3 separate regions of the Homo sapiens genome follow, and regions 1 and 3 are each linked to region 2. The links are contacts of gene promoters, found by promoter capture Hi-C in blood cells and fetal thymus (Javierre and others, 2016). All regions are on one chromosome and are shown on one strand. Each heading gives the region's core, a stretch centred on a gene start or on the middle of the fragment in contact. The rest is flanking DNA. Distances are from core to core; before and after follow the strand shown.

Region 1 (3,046 bases), core at 345-2,844, 280 kb after region 2:
ATAAACCTGCCAAGTACAGATATGCCAGGTGGCACCTGCTGTTTGCTGCTCACTTCTCCCAACAAATAGCAGCTAGGTGCCACCTGCACACCAATAAGCTGAGTTTTTCACTTACGGAACAAATAACTTTCAGAAGTCAATTTTATAGTTTCTGCCTTGCCCTTTGTTAAAAAAATACACACACTTGAAGCAATGAACTCATGAATTGTTTTCATCATGCATTTCCACTTGCCTAAATATAAAGGGTCCCAGGTAGATACAGAAATACCTGGTTTGGCCAAACTTGGTTTGAATAACTAGACATGCTAGAAAAGGTTTTCATTTTCCTGGGATCTGAGTGGAATATGTTAGAAAAGGCATGCTTTCTGAATTCTCTATGCTTAAAACATTTCTAGAGCAGTGCTTCTCAAACTTGAAAGAGCATGTAAATCACCTGAGATCTCGTGAACATACAACTCTGCTTCAGACCTGGGGGGAGGCAGGAGAGCAAGCATTCCTAACAAGCTCCCAGCTTGTGGAGCACAGAGCCGCCTCAGGCAGCAGGGCAGTGCAGCTGAGCAGTGACAGTGAACAGGGCCATTCAGAGGGCTCTCCACCTGGGGCTTAGGTACGACGGGAATCCCCACTGGACAGGCTAGGACTTGCACTGTGGCCATTGTTCCTCCTCCTGCCCATGGCTGAGTCAGCTTCTCAGTCCCTTCCAGGATACACTGAGAGGATTCAGGGGCGGTCTCGCCTCTGCCCATATCCCCACGTTGGTGAAGTACCACTGGCGCCATTTTCTAATCAGCTCATCGGCACCAGCACGTCACTTCCCCTGTTGTGCAGCTCAGTTTTATATTTCTGACTCGGGTGTAATAGTAACATCTTCCCCACCAATGTCTCAGGGTTATTGTGAGAACCAGAGAGGAGAGAGGTAGGAAGGAAGCAGGAAATGCAGGGTGCAAATACACCACATTATTATTCTAAATAATGGGATTTTTAATAACAAAGACCAAGAAGATTGTCTGTGCCTATCTAGTTCCCATCTGTAAGATAAAAAGGTGCAGTCCCTGAGCCTCCTAAAAACAGCACCCTAATGGCACTGCTCCTCCCAGGTATGATTGCAGTAGACCTACGTCAGTTCTTGCAGTTCAAACACATTTTTTCACTTTCTTCTGAAATGCCCTCAAATTCTATGACATAGTATCCATGAAGACTTCCCTTTTTACCCAGTGAAGTTACTAGAGGGGGTTCAAACCTTCTTACAGAGGGTTCCTAAAATGGGAGATCTGTGGAGTCATTGGGATTAAAAATTAAATTTCAAATTCATGACATCAATGTCCTCATCCCAGTTAAATAAAAGTAAATACAACCTTGAAGAAATTTGACCTACTCAGCTGCAATAGCTGTTGACCTGCAGAAGGCAAATGATGGACCCCGGCCACGCAAGAACACACATGGCGTGGGCTGCGTTCTTGTGCCCCAGCTCCATGGACGTGTCTTCTTAGCTGTGGACCCCTCCAAAGGAAACTGCTTGAGTGGAGTGCTCTGTATTGTCACTCCTGGGAATGCTCTCTTAACACCCCCATGCCTTGTGCTATGTGTTCATACCAGCATAGGCACTCAGAAGCAAAAAAGGTTTCCAGTGAAATTTGTTTGCAGGCAGGTATTAAGACATCAGACACTGCAGGATCCAAGTGAACCCCTGCCCGCCTGCCTGCCTGCCCTGCTCTGCTCTGCAGAAGGGCATGTGTCTGTAGCAATCTGCCCTTTCTGTCTGCGATGGGCAGAGACCCTGGCTCTGCCTCCTGTTTTCCCTGTAGCCCTCCAGACCTGGGGAGAGACATGGGACTCCAGCACCTGCCCAGCACGGAAGGGGGTCTTTCCCAGGTGTAAGTGTAGGGCTGCATTCACTAATTTAGGGTCATACCACAAACACTGTTGTGTCACCAGGATGTTGTCACATGCTTATTGTGAGCATTTTTGTGACATGAGCTTTCTCCTGAGAGGCCACCCTGTCCAAATGAGAGCTGTAGTTGGAGGCACATCCGTCTCATGCTGCCTGGGTCTCCCTGCACCAGCTCACTCTACTTTTCCTTTTTATCCACTTGGAGTTAAATGCACACATTTATGCACAAGTGCACAGAAGGCCCAGAACTGTTCCTAATAGATAATTAAATGATCTCTCTCCAGTGGAAACTCTCCTGGGCTACCTGGCTGCTAGCTGTTTTAGCCTCTTCATCCAGTATTGATTTACATGCATCGGTTTGTAACTCAGACAGTATAGTTAGTTAGTTTGTTTCACCATCACCTTCCAACCTGCTTACGTTTAAACTCCTTCTCTCTGCTTAGCTAATACAGATTTCTGTAAGGATTTGGAGAAATACCAGATACCTCCTGGTTAGTATCAGGACCTCTCCATTGGCCTATAATTGAACATCACTGTAAATTAGTTTCAGCTTTTATAGTAATGCATCTAACCCGCCAGCTTAAAAAAAAAGTGATGATAATCATGAAATTCAAGTGTCAATATAGACTTTTAAATCTGGTGTGGATGTTAATAGTGCCAGATATGCTTCTGTGTAATCATTTTTGAGAAGTGCTGTCTTCTTTACCATAATCACATTAATCAATCGGGAAATGGTTAAATAGACATTTTAATACATTGTTTTTTCCTGAGAAAAAAAGTGACTCCAGGAAATATGTTGTTACAATATCTCAACACCAGGAATTGTGGTCACATAGCATTCTTCTTCTAAATAAAGCATTTGTTTTACAAAAGAGTTTCATGTTTACTTAAACGTGACAAATGTATCACTCTTCGAAGTGAGAGTTAAATGAAATGTTCCCTGATTTAGATTCCAAGACCTGTGACTACTCAGTAGGACAATAGCATATTTCTTTTACTCAGATACCTGTTTATCCCTTTGTCAGCTCCAGAATGGAGACACAGGTGCTGCCACACAGAGGAGAGGGTCAGGTGTTTTCTTAGTCACAAATGCAGCAGTCTCACCCCTGAAAGAATTCCTTCATAACAACTAAATTGCACCTCTTAGAATACCTG
Region 2 (2,814 bases), core at 70-2,569:
TTGAGCAACTAAATGTAGAATGCCTAATTACAAGTGAGTTATCACTTTTGATATGAAGAAATGAGTGATCATGGGTGGACTAAAAACTGTCACTTGATATGCTATGATCTGGATGAAGGATTTAAAACTGACAGCCTAACCACCTAATTTAATCTCACTTGTTTAATAGTATATCTCAAAATTGTAAAGACTTTCAATGGGGCATAGGCATTCTGATTGTACCAAACATATCACCCTTGACAGTTGGCCTGATTAACGATTATGTGCCTGACTCTTCAAAGCTAGAATCTTGCCTGTTTTAACATTTTTGCTGCAGTAAGGATGATGTGAACTTTTACCCCAAATTCTAATATTTGCATTTCCTCTTATAGTAGTTCATGCAAGATGAAATTATCCAGGTGAAAGAGCTTTTAAGTGAACCAATACATTAGTGATTTAAATGATATTTTGTGTGTAGACAGTTAACTGATACCCATTGTGGTTTCCTAAAATGAACTTAAAACTCTTACTGTTCTTACTCTGGACACCATGGCAAATTTAAGGGAAGTAAAGATAATTTAGGGCATGTAAAGATGTACCTGTACTTTCATTATAATTTTCTGTTTTTCTTAAAAATTAGATATACTAGGGCTGGGCACAGTGGCTCACACCTGTAATCCCAGCACTTTGGGAGGCCGAGGCGGGCAGATCACAAGGTCAGGAGATCGAGACCATCCTGGCTAACACAGTGAAACCCCATCTCTACTAAAAATACAAAAAATTAGCCGGGCATGGTGGCGGGCGCCTGCAGTCCCAGCTGCTTGGGAGGCTGAGGCAGGAGAATGGCGTGAACCTGGGAGGCGGAGCTTGCAGTGAGCCAAGATCACACCACTGCACTCCAGCCTAGGCGACAGAGTGAGACTCCACCAAAAAAAAAAAATTAGATGTACCAATTTAACTTTAGTAATGTTTATATTTTGTAGTGCATTTAGATTTACATTTAATTAGATAGCAAGTGTTATATATATAAATACTTAATTGTAGTCACATATATACTTTTGAGAAATGTATTGTCACTGAATTAACTGCTTTATTTACACTCCTTAAATATATTTTATACCCATAAAATACCAACTTATGGAAAAATTTTAAAATAAGTAAATGAACACAGCTTTCCTGAGCACTGGGGAGAAAAGTATCATGGAAATATTAGTACCAAGGCTATTTTTGTTTTTCTTAAGAATTGTGATGTACATAATAAATGGTTCAATGTGTTAAGAATTCTAGCCGTTGCCAGGCAACAAGGGCTCTGCTTTATTCTCCTTATGTCATGTTCCTTCATTGCCCTATTCTTCCTTTGGTGGAGGAAAATATTTGCCTTAAAAAGAAAAACAAAATTATCTGCCAACATTTAGAAAGCTGTGTCAATTTTATACTAGTTTAACACAGATCTTTAGTTATTGGCAATAGAGTTTATATAGTTAAATATAAAGGAATTATCAGAAATACTTTATAGTTATCAAAAATTCTAAAGAAAAAGGCCATGGATGTAGAAATTCAGGACACACCTGGAAAGATAAGTATCTCTAAAAGGTCCATCCTTTCAGGAACTGTTGAGAATATAGATTACCCACACTATTGTGATCTCTTAAGAAAAATGAACATGCCTTTTGTGAAAGGTCTTGAGAACAGACATAACTATGGCAGGTTTGAAAAGAAATGCAACCCTGCTTTTCTTAAATTTCACCCTTATCCCCCTTCAGTTTTGCCAGACTATCATTTACATGATCCTTATCCCCCACCATATGGGCCACATTATCCATTATTTCCACTTCGGGATGATGTGACCTTAGGTGATTCCTGTTCAGGGTTTATGAGTCCTGGTGGTGATGCTGATTTAAATCCTGGCATTGGCAGAACCATACCAACCCTAGTGGATTTTAGTGATGTGAAACCTCAACATCGAGTTCCCAGACCAGACACAGGATTTCAAACAACAATAAAAAGGCAAAAAATTCTATCAGAAGAACTGCAACAGAACAGGAGATGGAATTCCAGGGAAGTACCAGACATTTCTATCAGAGCAAGACTTGGAGGTAAATGAAGTGACATGAACTTTCTATTTTTTAAATGCTCAAGGGAAGAGAGTATGGACATAAGATTCAATATTTAGGCAGTTAAATTAACAAAATTACAATGATCTGAAAAAGGTTTTATTTTTAAATTACAGATTATAAGAAACAAAGGAATGATAAACCTTATAAACTTATTTGTAAAAGAAAATTTATTCTTTAAGAAAAGAACATTCATTAGTGATTAACACAAAGTATATAACATTATTTATTCTAGATATATGGATAAGCTTGTTTTACCACAGGGGAATTTATGTATCACTTTGATAATTGTATAGAAATCCTCCTTATCTGTCTCTCTCCTTTGAAAGAATGAATTCACTGATATTATGAAAGAGTTAGTTTTAAGGATTGAAATAAAATGGGAAAAATTTAAGTACTTGAACGTACATTTTTTGGCTCCAATAAGAACAGAAGCTGAAATGAAGCAAACTCTGCATAAATAGCTCCACAGCCATGGAGGCAGGTTTGATGACCTCTTACTGACATCTGCACCATGTGGTTTCTCTGTAAGAACTCCTGTAAATGGAGTTCCTCTAAATGATGAGAAACACCTCCAAAGGAAAGCCACAGGTACTATTTTCTGTATAAAAGCTGTCTGGCAGGCAGGAATGTAAAAAGATCAACATTTTTAGCATCGGAAAAGGAAAGGGCCAAATGCTATAGGAAGAATACTTTTAAACATTATTCTAAGAAATTATAG
Region 3 (2,944 bases), core at 11-2,510, 300 kb after region 2:
GAACCAGCTGATGACCTCAGTGTCAGGTGCATCGTGGAAGGTGTTGGGACCTTCCCTTGCCACCACCCTCACCAGCCATCATCAGCCATAACCTGCACATTGGGGAAGTTTTGACTTATCCCTCACTTTTGCCCCTCTTCAAGCTGTTCTTTCCACAGTGAATGAGAAGGCCACTTCTTCCTTCAAACCTTTCAGTGGTTTCCATTTTCCTTTAGACAAAGTCTCTGCCTAGCTGGCCTCTGCCTGCCCCTCCTGCCTACCTCTCGAGCACTGCCCCCACCTAGGGCTCTGGTTCCCCAACCTTCACTCGGTCCTGCCACACCTCCCAGCCCCTTCTCCCTTCAGAACTTTCCTTCTTGTTGTCCCCAACACTGGGACACAAAACCCTCCTTATCAACCCTCCTTATCTGGCTGACTCTTACAAGATCAGAAACCTGTGTAATGCTCTCATGGCACGCTCCCCTTGTCTTCGTGGATTTCTCAGATGGGAAGGAATTATCCATGCAATCACACATAAACTTCTACCTACCCTCCCCTAGTAGCTGTCTGCTGCTAAGGATGGGGACCATTCTCACTTACTCACTGTTCTGTCCCTCTGCCCAGTCCAGATGTGTTGAAGGATGGAAATATACAGAGTAGTGGTAAAATATAAACCGTTCAGACATTCCAAGGATGGGCTCATGTGCTTTGACTCATTAATGTACCACTGCTGAAAACAGAACACAGCCGCAGTCTTGCCAGTAAGAGTGCAGTTACTGTAATTAATGAATTTGCTAATTAAGCCATGATTTCATACTGAACTTATGACCAACATATTGAGAAGGTGTGTCTTCAAGAAAATTTATTTTTTGTATTAAGATATTTACTCCAAAGCTAATTGAAGAAGCCAAATCTAGGCTCTGGTTTCACCATTGCCAGGGAAATGAGCTCATGGACTCCTATGAACTGATGATGTTAGATCAGAAGTTTCTCAAGGCCAGGGCCCAATCACTGCTGAGGCGTCAACAGTAGTTCCTTGTACATCAATAATTCTCATTACTTTTAAAAAATAACAGATGAATAGCAACTATTTTCCCTGTAGCTCCCTTGCTGTGCCTCCTACCCTCCACCACATGTTTCTGGGGAGCCCTGCTTCGGGCCTGCCAACTACAGAGAATTACTTTTGAGTATCCCTTCCACTCTCATCTCAAGACAGAGTTCATCTACCTTTGGGTTATTTGTCAAAAATGTGTCATTTTATTACAAAAAATATACAATCATCATGTATTTTGATTAAATTTTACACTAGATTATTAAAATTATTAAATACAATTATTAAAATTAATAATTTAACATATCACATATTTTAAATATATTGTATATAATGAATAATAATATAATTATTGTCTATTTTAATTCAATAAATGTATAGTAAGTTAGCCAGTTGTAAATTACTGAGAACACTCTACTGAAAAAGCATCATTTCAAATACACTATTTAAAATATTAAATGAAATACAATAACATAATTAAACTAATCTTTGGTTCCCCTATTTATGTATTCATTTATCCAACAAAATCTCCTTAAGTGCTTATAATGGGTAGGTCCTGGCTCGGTGTCCCCTAGACAGACGCATGGGCCTTCCCCCAGCCCGTCAGTATGGTGCAGGTGTGATGTGTCCGCAGGTGTGTGTGTATGTGTGCAGGTGTGGGGTCCGCAGGCGTGCTGGGCCCCCAGGCCGTGTTCCCCTTCCCCTCCCCGGTTGTAGATTTCAGCTGTTGCTGCCAGACCTGACCGGTTCCGGAGGTGGCCGCGCCCCACTCACTGTCGCCTGCTTTCCACAGGGGACAAGGGCCTGTCCGACACGCCCTACGACAGCAGCGCCAGCTACGAGAAGGAGAACGAAATGATGAAGTCCCACGTGATGGACCAAGCCATCAACAACGCCATCAACTACCTGGGGGCCGAGTCCCTGCGCCCGCTGGTGCAGACGCCCCCGGGCGGTTCCGAGGTGGTCCCGGTCATCAGCCCGATGTACCAGCTGCACAAGCCGCTCGCGGAGGGCACCCCGCGCTCCAACCACTCGGCCCAGGACAGCGCCGTGGAGAACCTGCTGCTGCTCTCCAAGGCCAAGTTGGTGCCCTCGGAGCGCGAGGCGTCCCCGAGCAACAGCTGCCAAGACTCCACGGACACCGAGAGCAACAACGAGGAGCAGCGCAGCGGTCTCATCTACCTGACCAACCACATCGCCCCGCACGCGCGCAACGGGCTGTCGCTCAAGGAGGAGCACCGCGCCTACGACCTGCTGCGCGCCGCCTCCGAGAACTCGCAGGACGCGCTCCGCGTGGTCAGCACCAGCGGGGAGCAGATGAAGGTGTACAAGTGCGAACACTGCCGGGTGCTCTTCCTGGATCACGTCATGTACACCATCCACATGGGCTGCCACGGCTTCCGTGATCCTTTTGAGTGCAACATGTGCGGCTACCACAGCCAGGACCGGTACGAGTTCTCGTCGCACATAACGCGAGGGGAGCACCGCTTCCACATGAGCTAAAGCCCTCCCGCGCCCCCACCCCAGACCCCGAGCCACCCCAGGAAAAGCACAAGGACTGCCGCCTTCTCGCTCCCGCCAGCAGCATAGACTGGACTGGACCAGACAATGTTGTGTTTGGATTTGTAACTGTTTTTTGTTTTTTGTTTGAGTTGGTTGATTGGGGTTTGATTTGCTTTTGAAAAGATTTTTATTTTTAGAGGCAGGGCTGCATTGGGAGCATCCAGAACTGCTACCTTCCTAGATGTTTCCCCAGACCGCTGGCTGAGATTCCCTCACCTGTCGCTTCCTAGAATCCCCTTCTCCAAACGATTAGTCTAAATTTTCAGAGAGAAATAGATAAAACACGCCACAGCCTGGGAAGGAGCGTGCTCTACCCTGTGCTAAGCACGGGGTTCGCGCACCAGGTGTCTT

The links. Contacts are between HindIII fragments. The CHiCAGO score rates a contact against its expected background, and 5 or more counts as called.
Region 1: a fragment that was not itself captured here is called in contact with the fragment with the promoter of SPMIP7 in region 2 in 11 of 17 cell types (naive CD8 T cells, naive CD4 T cells, total CD8 T cells and 8 more); the score reaches 14.8 in naive CD8 T cells.
Region 3: a fragment that was not itself captured here is called in contact with the fragment with the promoter of SPMIP7 in region 2 in 8 of 17 cell types (total CD8 T cells, total CD4 T cells, naive CD4 T cells and 5 more); the score reaches 11.4 in total CD8 T cells.

Annotation. Positions count from the first base shown.
Region 1 is chr7:50,378,645-50,381,690 of GRCh38, forward strand. The region is part of intron 4 of IKZF1 (IKAROS family zinc finger 1); the gene reads left to right. Among named protein-coding and RNA genes, the nearest start is that of FIGNL1, 70 kb to the right of the region's middle. RefSeq lists enhancers at 124-630, 631-1,136. The HindIII fragment of the contact is 8,997 bases long and covers 1-3,046 here.
Region 2 is chr7:50,094,564-50,097,377 of GRCh38, forward strand. SPMIP7 (sperm microtubule inner protein 7) reads left to right here and starts at 1,320. Exons shown (of 9, transcript NM_001161834.3): 1 at 1,320-2,075. The coding sequence starts at 1,523. The HindIII fragment of the contact is 3,144 bases long and covers 1-2,339 here.
Region 3 is chr7:50,398,095-50,401,038 of GRCh38, forward strand. It overlaps IKZF1 (IKAROS family zinc finger 1), which reads left to right. Exons shown (of 8, transcript NM_006060.6): 8 at 1,824-2,944. The coding sequence ends at 2,533. Among named protein-coding and RNA genes, the nearest start is that of FIGNL1, 51 kb to the right of the region's middle. The HindIII fragment of the contact is 4,416 bases long and covers 1-2,944 here.